2 separate regions of the Homo sapiens genome follow, and region 2 is linked to region 1. The links are contacts of gene promoters, found by promoter capture Hi-C in blood cells and fetal thymus (Javierre and others, 2016). All regions are on one chromosome and are shown on one strand. The core of a region is centred on a gene start or on the middle of the fragment in contact, and the rest is flanking DNA. Distances in the headings are between cores, read along the strand shown. Region 1 holds the start of SPEF2 (sperm flagellar 2). Region 2 overlaps IL7R (interleukin 7 receptor).

The links. The method cuts DNA at HindIII sites, captures the fragments that hold promoters and counts their contacts. A CHiCAGO score of 5 or more calls a contact.
Region 2: a fragment that was not itself captured here is called in contact with the fragment with the promoter of SPEF2 in region 1 in 2 of 17 cell types (naive CD8 T cells and total CD4 T cells); the score reaches 6.0 in naive CD8 T cells.

The regions. Positions count from the first base shown.
Region 1 is chr5:35,616,449-35,619,564 of GRCh38, reverse strand. It overlaps SPEF2 (sperm flagellar 2), which reads right to left and starts at 1,702. Exons shown (of 37, transcript NM_024867.4): 1 at 1,510-1,702. The coding sequence starts at 1,567. RefSeq lists an enhancer at 852-1,659. The HindIII fragment of the contact is 5,837 bases long and covers 1-3,116 here.
Region 2 is chr5:35,863,785-35,866,900 of GRCh38, reverse strand. The region is part of intron 2 of IL7R (interleukin 7 receptor); the gene reads right to left. Among named protein-coding and RNA genes, the nearest start is that of IL7R, 8.5 kb to the right of the region's middle. The HindIII fragment of the contact is 4,637 bases long and covers 1-3,116 here.

The DNA.
Region 1 (3,116 bases), core at 453-2,952:
GCTGGGACTACAGGCACCCGCCACGACGTCCGGCTAATGTATTTTTAGTAGAGACAGGATTTCACTATGTTGGCCAGGCTGGTCTCGAACTCCTGACCTCATGATCTGCCCACCTCGGCCTCCCAAAGGGCTGGCATTACAGGCGTGAGCCACCGCACCCGGCCCGGGTGTGGTTTTTACTAATAAAATAAATGAACTAAATTAAACTAAGCAATATGTAACTGCTTTTCTTTTAGAAGAGTACAACTTAAGGGCATGATATTTTATTTTGGCTCCTATGGTGAGACAGGAATAAGAAACAATAAATGCTAAATATTGTCCTCAGTCCATCATATTTTAGCAAATAAACAGTTGGAGACACAATGGGATAATCGTAGAATACCAGGAAAGAATTTATTGCAGTTCACAGGGAGTGTGTAGATGGTTATTTGACAAAGAAAGAGTCTGAGGTTTATGCCTCAAGAAATGCAACAGGAGATGCTCCGTGCTAAAGATCCTCATGCTGAGAGTATTAATAACTACTTTGCACCCACAGAAACACTACCGATCTAGCAACTTCTGTAGATAAGCTAAGGTTGAACTGGCACCACTGCCTCTCTGGTAGCAAGCTGGTGTTAAGCAAGTTCTTCTGGGAAAATGGACTGAAATGACTTGCCCTGAAAACCTCTTCCCTTAAGCAAAAAAAGAAAAAAAGACAAACAAAACCAACTGAAAAATGAACTCCTGAAGAATTACAGGGCAGTCAAGGAAGCTGCCAGCATGTAAAATTGTCTCTGTGGTTGTCAGACTTGGAAACTTTGGGTGGCAACTGCATGGTTAGGATAAAATTAGGTTGGTGAATAAGGTCAGCTTTGGGCAAGAGCCAATAGTGACCAGAAATAGCTAGTTTGTGATTTGGGGCTTAAAATTTACTAAAATTTGTAAATGTTAACATATTCTACATTAACTTATTTTTCACCCACCCTCCCCTGCTGGTCAGTTAAGTATGGAAAGCATTATTAGGTCCATTTTATAGAGAAGGAAACACATTCAGAGAAGGTATTGTAACTTGTCCAGTGGCTTCATATTTCATCGACTAGCCACCACACCATGCTTCTGCTTCTGGTGATGTGAAGGAGGCATCGTTGGGGTCAGACTACAAAGTCCAGCAAAGTTCCCTCTCCACAGAAGCAAAGGAGACCTTCCTAAACCCTCTGATTGCCTAGAACCACATCACAAAGTCAGAATGCCTGCGGGTTGGGCCCACCGTGACAAGGGTAACTCGAGAGCGGCAGAGTGGGGACGTGACAAGGCCTTGCCCTGGCTGGGGTGAGCTGTAGGGAGGTGGCGGGACGGACCTGGGGCACCGCCGAGCCGAGTTGCTCACTGTGGGATGCTGCCGGCTACGCAGGTGCCCCACCTGTGCAGCTCGCGCCCTGCCCGCCACCTTCCCTGAGTGCGCTGCGCTGCGCTGCAGGCTCTGCGCCCCGCTAGCCCCTCAGACGCTCGCCCCTGGCCGTGGTCACTCACTCACGGTCCGGGACACCTTCAACTCCTTGTTGAGCCACTGGCACAGGATCTCCGACATGGTTCAGCCGGTGCCTCAGACCGCAGGCGGGGGCTTAGAAACTCGCCAGGAACCAAGCCTGCCAGCCCGCGTCCTCCTGTAGCCAAGGGCAACCCTTTGCTATGGAAGCGTATCCAGGCTGGAACTAGGCGAAAGGCCTTAGAGAAGAGGGGACGCTAGGGCTCAGCCGCAGAGGACAGAAAATCGTGTTTCGCCACCTGCTGGCGGGTAAGACCTGAGCGTGCGCCAGCGCAGGAGGAAGCCGTTGGGGGCCTGTGAGAGAAGTTAGGGAGCAGTGGGTGTGGGGAGAGGCGAGGCGGGAACACTTAGGGACACAGCAGGAGCTTCTTAGGTGAGCAGAAAGTAAAACCAGAGTCTCCGCAGGGCTCCGTGGCTCACGCAAATAATCCTACCACTTTGTGGAGGGGGTGGCGCTCGACTGAGCCTGGGAGTTCAAGACCAGCCTGGGCAAGGTAGCAGAAACCGTTTTTTTTTCTGTAAGAAATTAGGCGGCCGTGGTGGCGTGCGCCTGTGGTCCCACCAGCTCAGGATGCTGACGTGGAAGGATCAACCCAGGAGGCGGAGTTTACAGTGAACCGAGATCGAGCCACTGCACTCCAGCCTGGGCAACAAAATGAGACTCTGTCTCAAAAAAGAAGAAGAAAGAAGAAAGAATAACAAGAAGGAGAAGGAGAGGGAGAGGAAGAGGAGGAGGAGAAGAGGAAGAACAGGAGGAAAAGAAGAAAGAGAAGGAGAAGAAGGAGAACAAGGAGAAGGAGGAGAACAAGGAGAGATCAAAGAAGAGGAAGAAGAAGAAAAAAGAAGAGGAAGAAAAAGAAGAAGGGTATTTGGGGTATCCATCACCTTGAGTATTTATCATTTATATACGTTGGTAACATTTCAAATCTTCTCTTCTAGCTATTTTGAAATATACAATGTATCATTGCTAACTATAGTCACCCCAGTTGCTAGCTAACATTAGACCCTATTTCTTCCATCTAACTATAAGTTTGTACCCATTCACCAACCTCTCTTCATTTCCCCTTCCCACCCTCACATCCTTTCCAGTCTCTGGTACTCATAATTTTGTTCTCTATCTCCAGGGGATCAACTTTTTTAGCTACCACATATGAGTAAAACATGCAGTATTTGTCTTTCTGTTGCCTGGCCTATTTCATTGAACATAATGGCCTCCAGTTCATCCATGTTGCTGCAAATGACCTGTTTTCATTCTTTTCCATGGACAAATGGTATTCCGTTATGTATATATACCATTCTTTCTTTTTCCATTTGTTCGCTGATGGACACTTAGATTTATTCCATATCTTGGCTATTTTGAATAGTTCTGTGATAAACATGTGAGTGCAGGTATCCCTTTGATATACTGACTTCTTTTCCTTTGGATAGATACACTGTAGTGGAACTGCTGGATTTTATGGCAGTTCTGTTTTTAGTTTTTTGAGAAACCTCCATACTGCCTTCCATAGTGGTCATACTAATTTACATCCCCACCAACAGTATGAGTTCCCTTTTCTCCACATCTTCTCCAGCATCTGTTGTTTTTTGTCTT
Region 2 (3,116 bases), core at 352-2,851, 250 kb before region 1:
AAAATGATAACATAGTATAAAGGGTTATATACATAATATCACATATACTTGATGGGTAACGTAATGGATTTTTATAGGTAATTTTGGCTGGTGAACCCTAACAAGAGTGGTTAAGAAAACAAAATATATAAATTACTAATATCTGGAATGTAAGAGGAGATATCACTATAGAACATGCAGATGTTAAAAGTATAATAAGGAAATTTTAAATGCTATTTTAATGTATATAATAACTTAGATGTAATGAAAATGTTTTTATAAACACAAATTAGTAAATCTGACCCACATAGAAATGGAATATTTCAACAGTTATATTTCTCTCAAAGAAATTAAACTTATTATCAATAAACTTCCCCCCAAAGAAAACTCTATGCTTGATGGTTATATTCTGGTAAATTCTATCAAATGTATAAGGAAAGAAATAGTGTCAATCTGACACAAATTATTTTAGAAACTGGAAGAGGAATGACCCTTCTCAACCTATTTTTTGAAGCTAGCTTAATCCTGGTACCCAAACCTGGCCAAAATATTAGAGAAAAGAAGTTGATAGACAAATATCCCTCAAAAATGTATAAGCAAACTTTCACAAGAAAATACTAACACACTAATTTTAATACATAATTATAAAGTAGGGCACATCTCAGGAAACCAAAGCAGGTTAAAGATTCAAAAATTAATCAATATAATTTGCCATGTTAACAGACTAGAAGACATAAATAACCTGGTTATAATCAATCAATGCATTCAAAGCATAATTTAATAACATGAATGCATCTATTCATGTTAAAAACTCACAGCAAATAAGAAATAGAAAGACACTTCCTCAATCTGATAAAGAGCATTTACAAAAGCCTATAGTTAATATCATATTTAGTGCTGAAATTGTGAACATGAATTGTTTCCCTAAGACCAGGACACGACAGGAATATCCACTTTCACCATTTCTATTCAGTGGTGTACAGGAGGTTTTAGCCAATGCATAAGACAAGAGAAACAAATAAACACAATTTGATTTGCGTTTCTCTGATGGCCATTGATGATGAGCATTTTTTCATGTGTCTTTTGGCTGCATAAATGTCTTCTTTTGAGAAGTGTCTGTTCATATCCTTTGCCCACTTTTTGATGGGGTTGTTTGTTTTTTTCTTGTAAATTTGTTTGAGTTCATTGTAGATTCTGGATATTAGCCATCAATGGCCATCAGAGAAATGCAAATCAAAACCACAATGACATACCATCTCACACCAGTTAGAATGGTGATCATTAAAAAGTCAGGAAACAAAAGGTGCTGGAGGGAATGTGGAGAAATAGGAACACTTTTACACTGTTGGTGGGACTGTAAACTAGTTCAACCATTGTGGAAGACAGTGTGGCGAGTCCTCAAGGATCCAGAGCTAGAAATACTATTTGACCCAGCCATCCCATTACTGGGTATATACCCAAAGGAGTATAAATCATGCTGCTATAAAGACACATGCACATGTACGATTATTGCAGCACTATTCACAATAGCAAAGACTTGGAACCAAGCCAAATGTCCATCAATGATAGACTGGATTAAGAAAATGTGGCACATATACACCATGGAATACTATGCAGCCATAAAAAAGGATGAGTTCATGTCCTTTATAGGGACATGGATGAAGCTGGAAACCATCATTCTCAGCAAACTATCACAAGGACAAAAAATCAAACACTGCATGTTCTCACTCATAGATGGGAATTGAACGATAAGAGCACTTGGACACAGGAAGGGGAACATCACACACCAGGGCCAGTCATAGGTGGAAGGAGGGGGGAGGGATAGCATTAGGAGATATACCTAATGTAAATGACGAGTTAATCGGTGCAGCACACCAACATGGCACATGTATACATATGTAACAAACCTACACGTTGTGCACATGTACCCTAGAACTTAAAGTATAATAATAATTAAAAAAACTAAATATAAAGGCTAAAACTGTAGAACATTTAAAAGAAAACATGAGAAAATATCTTCCCAACTTTGGGAGTAGGCAAAGTTATCTTAGCAAGGATACAAAAAGCACTACATATAAAAGAAAATAAATGATATATTAGACTCCATCAAAATAAAAAAAAACTCTTGCTTATTAAAACGCACCAGTAAGAAAATAAAATGGCAAACTTCAGAATAGAAAATAGATGCAATACATCTATCTGACAAAGGAAATGTATACAGAATGTATAAAGAACTCATATCCAGCAATAACAAAAGGACAAATAACTCAGTGCTTTTAACAGATACTAGCCCAAAGAAGACAGGCAAAAGACCAAGTATATGAAAAGCTGCTCAACATTTGTTATTTGACAAATGCGAATTAAAAACCTAACGAGATACTATCCCAAAGTCAAACGTTGCAAATGATGTATATCTCTCATGCATCGCTGGAAGGAGAGTAGAATGGTATAACCACTTTGAAAAACTGTTGGGCGGTTTCTTATAAACTTAGATACATGCTTACCTTATGACACAGCAATTCCATTCTGAGGTTTTATACCCCAGAAAAATGAAAATATATATACACAAACTGATTTGTCCAAGAATGTGAACAGCAACCTAAAAAATAATAGTCTCAAACTTGAAAAAACACAAATGTTCATCAAGAAGAGAAAGAATTAAAAATTTGTGGTATATTCATACAGTGGAATTACTACTTAGCAATTGAAAAGATGAGCTATGAGATGGACATCAACATGGCTAACTCTCACAAACACTGGTTAAATGAAAGAAGACAGAAAAGAATAAAGAGTATTCTATTAATAAGAACTATCAGAAACTGGCAAAAACCAAAGGGTAATAGAATTGAGAATTATGATTGCTCCTGGGGTATGAAGATTGACTGGAAAGGAACATGAAGCATCCTTCTAGGGGAAAAATAAGTTCTATATCTTTACCATTGGAATGGCTACAGGTCATAGACATTTCTCCAAATTCACTTAATTTTTGTGCATTTTACCACACATAAATTTTACCCCTAAAATGCATTGTAATCAAACAAGAAAGCAAAGAAAAATAAGTAAATAATGTAAAAATTAAAGAAGTAACAAAGGTATATATTCTCATTGTAAAGGTAGAATAAAAGTAATATCATAGG